Regions from separate parts of the Homo sapiens genome. Here region 2 is linked to region 1. Evidence: promoter capture Hi-C in human tissues and cell types (Jung and others, 2019). All regions are on one chromosome and are shown on one strand. The core of a region is centred on a gene start or on the middle of the fragment in contact, and the rest is flanking DNA. Distances in the headings are between cores, read along the strand shown. Region 1 holds the start of CDKN1B (cyclin dependent kinase inhibitor 1B). Region 2 has its middle 100 kb from the start of ATF7IP.

The links. Contacts are between HindIII fragments. The study calls those that stand out against the background at their distance.
Region 2: a fragment that was not itself captured here is called in contact with the fragment with the promoter of CDKN1B in region 1 in 1 of the 25 tissues and cell types used here (psoas muscle).

What each region holds. Positions count from the first base shown.
Region 1 is chr12:12,715,022-12,718,617 of GRCh38, forward strand. CDKN1B (cyclin dependent kinase inhibitor 1B) reads left to right here and starts at 2,347. Exons shown (of 3, transcript NM_004064.5): 1 at 2,347-3,293. The coding sequence starts at 2,819. It also overlaps a transcript of GPR19 not described here. RefSeq lists enhancers at 1-64, 2,321-2,370, 2,451-2,550 and silencers at 1,731-2,300, 2,725-2,913. The HindIII fragment of the contact is 13,879 bases long and covers 1-3,596 here.
Region 2 is chr12:14,262,291-14,266,111 of GRCh38, forward strand. No RefSeq gene overlaps it. Among named protein-coding and RNA genes, the nearest start is that of ATF7IP, 100 kb to the right of the region's middle. The HindIII fragment of the contact is 3,925 bases long and covers 1-3,584 here.

The sequences.
Region 1 (3,596 bases), core at 1,097-3,596:
CATGTGAAGGGGATCGAAGTGTTTATTTTCCACTTCCATATAAGACATGAATTCCATGAGTAAAATCAAACTTCTGTGGCAAGGTGAACTACTCTAGAATGTCTCCATTTACATACATGTGGTAGTTTGGGTGTTTATGCATATGGATAGATGCACATATATAGAGTTCCTGTGTTGTCTAGCAATTGTTTTAAAATTTGGACAATTATCTAATTTCTAGGGTAAGGTATAAATTATGGTAGGGAGGCCTACCCTAATTTTCCTGTTCCTTTTCCCCCAGTCTGCAGTCCAATAAATTGACAGCCTTAAAAGTAGAAAAACTAAAGAGGATGAGACCTCTTGCTTGATCCTAGGTGAATTCTTTTCTGTCAGTTAGGTAGGAAGTCCTGACTTGAAAACTAGTTCTGGGCACTGCCCCCTTTACTGTTCTCTGGGTATCAACCCCTGTCCTTCAATTTTAGTTGAACTAGTGGATGGTGATACCACAGGCTCAAGACAGCTGCATTTAAATATCAGTGACCACAGGCCACATCAAGGAAACATCTGCAGGCAACCCAGGGCCTGGGAAGGAGCCATTTTCAGTCACTTGTAAGACAGCAGGACCTGCAGACTACAGCACAATCAAACTCAGACAAAACCCTGAACCAGTGAGAACCATTAGGAAGGAAAGGAACAGAAAATGAACCAACCTGAGTGTTAGGAGACTTGCATCTAGTCCTGACTCCGGTACCAACCGAATGCATGTCCCTGGACAGGAAACCTCTCTGAGTCTCGATTTCCTCCGTGGTAAAAAGGAGAGGGTTAAACCACAGGGTCCCGAGGGTCCCTTCCAGCTGTCACATTCTGGAGCGTATGAGATGAGGTAGGCACACAAAGTGGACAAGATGTGGCTAAGAAAACAAGCTACACATCAAGCTCATCTGTAGCATAGGTGCTTAAGAAAACTTTGCTGCTGTGTAATATTAGAACGGAAGGTTGGTTTCCAGTAAAATGCATTAACTTTGGCTCAAACCAAGATGATGGGTACCGGGCATGGGGGTGGGGAGGCAGTTGAAGATCCACTGAGCTTTGTCTCAGGGCAGCCCTGCTCATCGTCCTACTTTACCTTCCACCACGGTGCTCAAGCCCACACTGAGAGAGAAATTTCCAGCTGCAAAAGGGAGAAGAGAAACGCTGGAATACTAGTATCGGACGTTAGGACATGGTTGTGGTGTTTTAAAAATCATTTCATCATCTGGAGTTTGACCCCGAGGGGAGTATTTTCACCCTTCAGCCCTCTGAAAGCATTCACTAGCATCTGAATATTGTTCTGAGTTTGTTGGAGCAGTGAAATCTGGTGAGAGAGAAGGGTGGAGGAAGGAAGGAGCTGTTGTATTTGGCGGCTGGACTCAGGTAGAGGAAACTGCTACAATCCCGGGAAAGAACAGAAAAGTAGAAAGGGACGAGTTCCCACACGCAGCCAATGTCCATGGCCTTAACTGTGCTTGGGAAGGAAGATCCTGGGCCAGGGGTGTACCCTCGTTTTTCAAAACTAAACGTGTCTGAGACAGCTACAAAGTTTATTAAGGGACTTGAGAGACTAGAGTTTTTTGTTTTTTTTTTTTAATCTTGAGTTCCTTTCTTATTTTCATTGAGGGAGAGCTTGAGTTCATGATAAGTGCCGCGTCTACTCCTGGCTAATTTCTAAAAGAAAGACGTTCGCTTTGGCTTCTTCCCTAGGCCCCCAGCCTCCCCAGGGATGGCAGAAACTTCTGGGTTAAGGCTGAGCGAACCATTGCCCACTGCCTCCACCAGCCCCCAGCAAAGGCACGCCGGCGGGGGGGCGCCCAGCCCCCCCAGCAAACGCTCCGCGGCCTCCCCCGCAGACCACGAGGTGGGGGCCGCTGGGGAGGGCCGAGCTGGGGGCAGCTCGCCACCCCGGCTCCTAGCGAGCTGCCGGCGACCTTCGCGGTCCTCTGGTCCAGGTCCCGGCTTCCCGGGCGAGGAGCGGGAGGGAGGTCGGGGCTTAGGCGCCGCGGCGAACCCGCCAACGCAGCGCCGGGCCCCGAACCTCAGGCCCCGCCCCAGGTTCCCGGCCGTTTGGCTAGTTTGTTTGTCTTAATTTTAATTTCTCCGAGGCCAGCCAGAGCAGGTTTGTTGGCAGCAGTACCCCTCCAGCAGTCACGCGACCAGCCAATCTCCCGGCGGCGCTCGGGGAGGCGGCGCGCTCGGGAACGAGGGGAGGTGGCGGAACCGCGCCGGGGCCACCTTAAGGCCGCGCTCGCCAGCCTCGGCGGGGCGGCTCCCGCCGCCGCAACCAATGGATCTCCTCCTCTGTTTAAATAGACTCGCCGTGTCAATCATTTTCTTCTTCGTCAGCCTCCCTTCCACCGCCATATTGGGCCACTAAAAAAAGGGGGCTCGTCTTTTCGGGGTGTTTTTCTCCCCCTCCCCTGTCCCCGCTTGCTCACGGCTCTGCGACTCCGACGCCGGCAAGGTTTGGAGAGCGGCTGGGTTCGCGGGACCCGCGGGCTTGCACCCGCCCAGACTCGGACGGGCTTTGCCACCCTCTCCGCTTGCCTGGTCCCCTCTCCTCTCCGCCCTCCCGCTCGCCAGTCCATTTGATCAGCGGAGACTCGGCGGCCGGGCCGGGGCTTCCCCGCAGCCCCTGCGCGCTCCTAGAGCTCGGGCCGTGGCTCGTCGGGGTCTGTGTCTTTTGGCTCCGAGGGCAGTCGCTGGGCTTCCGAGAGGGGTTCGGGCTGCGTAGGGGCGCTTTGTTTTGTTCGGTTTTGTTTTTTTGAGAGTGCGAGAGAGGCGGTCGTGCAGACCCGGGAGAAAGATGTCAAACGTGCGAGTGTCTAACGGGAGCCCTAGCCTGGAGCGGATGGACGCCAGGCAGGCGGAGCACCCCAAGCCCTCGGCCTGCAGGAACCTCTTCGGCCCGGTGGACCACGAAGAGTTAACCCGGGACTTGGAGAAGCACTGCAGAGACATGGAAGAGGCGAGCCAGCGCAAGTGGAATTTCGATTTTCAGAATCACAAACCCCTAGAGGGCAAGTACGAGTGGCAAGAGGTGGAGAAGGGCAGCTTGCCCGAGTTCTACTACAGACCCCCGCGGCCCCCCAAAGGTGCCTGCAAGGTGCCGGCGCAGGAGAGCCAGGATGTCAGCGGGAGCCGCCCGGCGGCGCCTTTAATTGGGGCTCCGGCTAACTCTGAGGACACGCATTTGGTGGACCCAAAGACTGATCCGTCGGACAGCCAGACGGGGTTAGCGGAGCAATGCGCAGGAATAAGGAAGCGACCTGCAACCGACGGTAATGACCCTTTCCCAACCATAGAATGTGTTTGGGGCCCCGCTTTGCCTGCTGGAGGGTGTTAACCTTAGCTTGCTTTTCGGCGTATTCTGATTTAGCTTTGGGAGAGCTAACTTTATTGGTCTTAGGTGTTCAGTGCTACCTGGCCCACTGCTTGTCTGTTTGTGACTTTTAAGTCAGAAACTGGAGATGGTAAGATCCGATAATTTCCCTAACTTAATACATCGCGGTCCCTCTCACTAGCAACTCCTAGGTATGTGACAAAGTTGGGATGTTTATCAACGGTCCGCCTCCTGGCTAGGG
Region 2 (3,821 bases), core at 372-2,871, 1.5 Mb after region 1:
TGTCACCAGGCTGGAGTGCAGTGGCGCCAATCTCGGCTTACTGCAACCTCTGTCTCCCAGGTTTAAGAGATTCTCCTGCTCAGCCTCCCGAGTAGCTGGGATTACAGGCACTCACCACTATGCCCAGCTAATTTTTTGTATTTTTAGTAGAGACGGGGTTTCACCATGTTGGCCAGGCTGGTCTTAAACTCCTGACCTCATGATTCGCCCACCTCGGCCTCCCAAAGCGCTGGGATTACAGGCGTGAGCCACCGCGCCTGGCTAGAAAAACAGACTTTTCATTCCAGATGTATTAACAAACAGGTCAGCTACCAGCCAGAATTAAAAGAACTCAAACGCTAAGACAAAGCAAGGAGTCTGAAGTCCACTAGGTCAGTAGCTTTTCAGGACCTGAAACAGGTGGACTAGCCCAGCAGAAGAACAGATCTGTTTCCTTACCCAGAAACTTCCAAACATCCTATCAGGATAATAACTAAGCTACTAGCACGAAAACCCTGAGAAAAGGTGAGCTATTGACATGCAGATTTCAACATCCAAAGCACTTTAAAATTTCAACATGTTATTTATAACTTTAGATTTCTTAGCAAAACTACACATTACTGGACCTAATATTAGAAGAGTAATTATTAGATACATGATCATGAGTCAGTACTAATGTTTTCACTAAAGTTTTCAAGTAGTCTGCTAAGACCTGTTCACACATGCTAGGCTAAGATCTAGCAGCAATTAAGTTAGGATTTATCCCTGTGCCACATACCCTAACATCCAATCTATTTAACCACTTTGACTCTTAAAGGGCAAAGAAGAAAGAGAGATTCCTTAAAAGATACGGGGACTTGTAGGGGCTGAAGTAGAGAAAGTTTGTTGCTGTTGTAACATCCCAATTTCGAGTCCCTTAGTAAGCACGTTTTCCAGACCCTGATTTTCTTTTCTTTTTTTCTTTTTTTTTGAGACAGGATCTGGCTCTGTTGCCCAGGCTGGAGTGCAGTGGTGTAATCACAACTCACTGCCGTTGCCTCTCAGGCTTAAGTAATCTTCCCACCTCAGCCTCCACAGTAGCTGGGACTACAGGTATGTGCCACCATGCCTGGGTAATTTTTCTATTTTTTGGGTAGAGACAGGGTCTCGCCATGTTGCCCTGGCTCAAGCTATCCACCTGCTTCAGCCTCTCAATGTGCTGGGATGACAGGCGTGAGCCACCACACCCAGATCCAGACCCTGATTTTCCCTTGCTGGTACTCATCAGTGATGTTAAAATATTTCAGTTTTCGGACCGGGCACAGTGGCTCACGCTTGTAATCTCAGCACTTTGGGTGGCTGAGGCGGGGGGATCATGAGGTCAGGAGTTTGAGACCAGCCTGGCCAATATGGTGAAACCCCATCTCTACTAAAAACTACAAAAATCAGTCGGGTGTGGTGGCGCACGCCTGTAGTCCCAGCTACTCAGGAGGCTGAGGCAGGAGTCACTTGAACCCTGGAGGCAGAGGTTGTAGTGAGCTGAGATCGTGCCACTACACTCCAGCCTGAGCGACAGACGGAGACTCTTGTCTCAAAAAAAAAAAAAAAATTTCAGTTTCTGGTCACAATGTAATATTGTATGACCTGACCTCTTTGAAATTAGACCTTCTGTCAATAAGGTAAAAGAGGAGGTAATATGATATGTGTAACTTCCAGGAAAAAGCTTTCAGATCTAATAAACAATTTGTCACTGTTTGAGAGATCAAGGAAGCAAGTGTTGAGTTGAAACCTCTTTGAGCCAAGATCTCCTTGCCAAGGCACATTAGACATGTAGTATGAGGAAGAAACAAACTTTTGGTGTGTTAAGCCATTGAGAGAATTGGTGGATATTTGTTATACAGTACAACCTAAATTAGCTTGATTAGTCACCTGTCGATATCTGTTTCTGTACCCTCATTTCTTCCCATCAGAAGCTGTGTCTTCTACACAGTCCTAGGCTTCAGAAGACACTGACTCCAGCTCCAGCTCCACAGGGTGGTTCAGTATAAGAATCATGGTAATATTAGTTCCTAATCACTAACTGGTTTAGTAAGTTTGCCAGGAAGTCTCAGCAGTTTCTCAGAGAGAGAGAGAAAGGATGTGCCTTTCTCCCTCTGGATGTTTTTATGACAATTATTTTATTATCTCACGGTTCTGTGAGTCAGGAATTCAGGAGCAGCTGAGCTGGACAGTTCTGGCTCAGATTCTCACATGAGGTTCCATTCCAGACATTTGCCAGGGCTGCATTCATCTGAAGGCTTGACTGGGGTTAGGGAATATACTTCCAAGATGGCTTATATGGCTGTTGGCATAAGTTCTCAGTTCATTGCTGGCTCTTAGTAGAAGACCACAGTTACTTACCCTGTGATCCACTCCATGGGGTTACTTGAATGTCCTCCTGTCGTAGTAGCTGGCTTTCCCCAGAGTGATCCCAACAAAAAGAACAGGAGGAAACCATTATATTTTATGTCCTAATTTTAGGAACAACACACCATCATTTCGACTTCATTTTATTCATTAAAGGAAGTCATTAAGTCTAGCCCACATTTAGGAGGAGGGGAATTAGGCTGCACTTTTGCAGGGAAGGAGGAATATTAAGGAATTTGTGGACATATTGTAAACCACCACAGATGTAACAGCAGGAAGTGCTGTTGCCATATTGAGTAACAGGAGGATCTAGCCTAAGGGTAAACCCTAACAGAGAGGAAAGCAGAACAGACATGGAAAGAATTTTGATGACATCACTGAGCCACTGATCTTACCATGCCTGGAACCTACGCTGGACTACTTAGTTATGTGAAAAAAAGTAAATTTCTTCCCTTACCATTTCAGTCTGTTTGAATGAGGTTTGCTGATATTTCCTGTAGGGAATGAAATCAACGTATCTAACCCACAATACATATTGTAAATTAACCTAGATATCAATATATAAATGTAAACATTTGAAAAATATAATCTCCATTTCTAAATTATTTAAATTATATATGTATAAAACTGCTTATTCAATTACATATACAGTTATATATGTATGTGTATGTATAAAACTGCTTACCATATAAGTTTTGTGCAATTTTTAAAAAATTATTCAAATAATTTCCAAATAATTTGTTGATTTTAAAAAACCTTTGGTGTGGCCGGGCGTGGTGGCTCATGCCTGTAATCCCAGCACTTTGTGGGGCCGAGGCTGGCGGATCATCTGAGGTCGGAAGTTCAAGACCAGCCTGACCAACATGGAGAAACCCCGTCTCTACCAAAAATACAAAATTAGCCACCCTCCCAAAGTGCTGAGATTATAGGCGTGAGCCACTGTGCCCAGCCACCAGATACGTTTTAAATAATTTTTTTGTGCCTTAGTTTTCTCATCTGTAAAATAGGGTACGGTTGGTGATGATAATTTCAATTCACAAATGAGTTAATAATGCTTTTATTTATTGATATATTTATTTATTTATTTTTGAGACAGAGTCTGTCACCCAGGCTGGAGTGTAGTGGTGTGATCATACTTTACAGCAGCCTCAAACTCCTGGTTTAAGGGATCCTCCCACCTAAGGCTCTCAAGTAACTGGGACTGCAGGCACACAACACCATGCCTGGCAAATTAAAAAAAAAAAAATTATAGGGACAGGGTCTCACTGTGTTGTCCAGGCTGGTCTTGAACTCTTGAGCTCAGGCCTCCCAAAGCTCTGGGATTACAGGTATGAGCCTCCACACCTGGCTAATATCCTTTTAGAATAGAACCATATAGAGAAAGTACTATGGAGGTGTTAATTTTTATTTTTATTAATAAAATCAATGTTAATGTCTTCAATCAATAGTCATTCAGT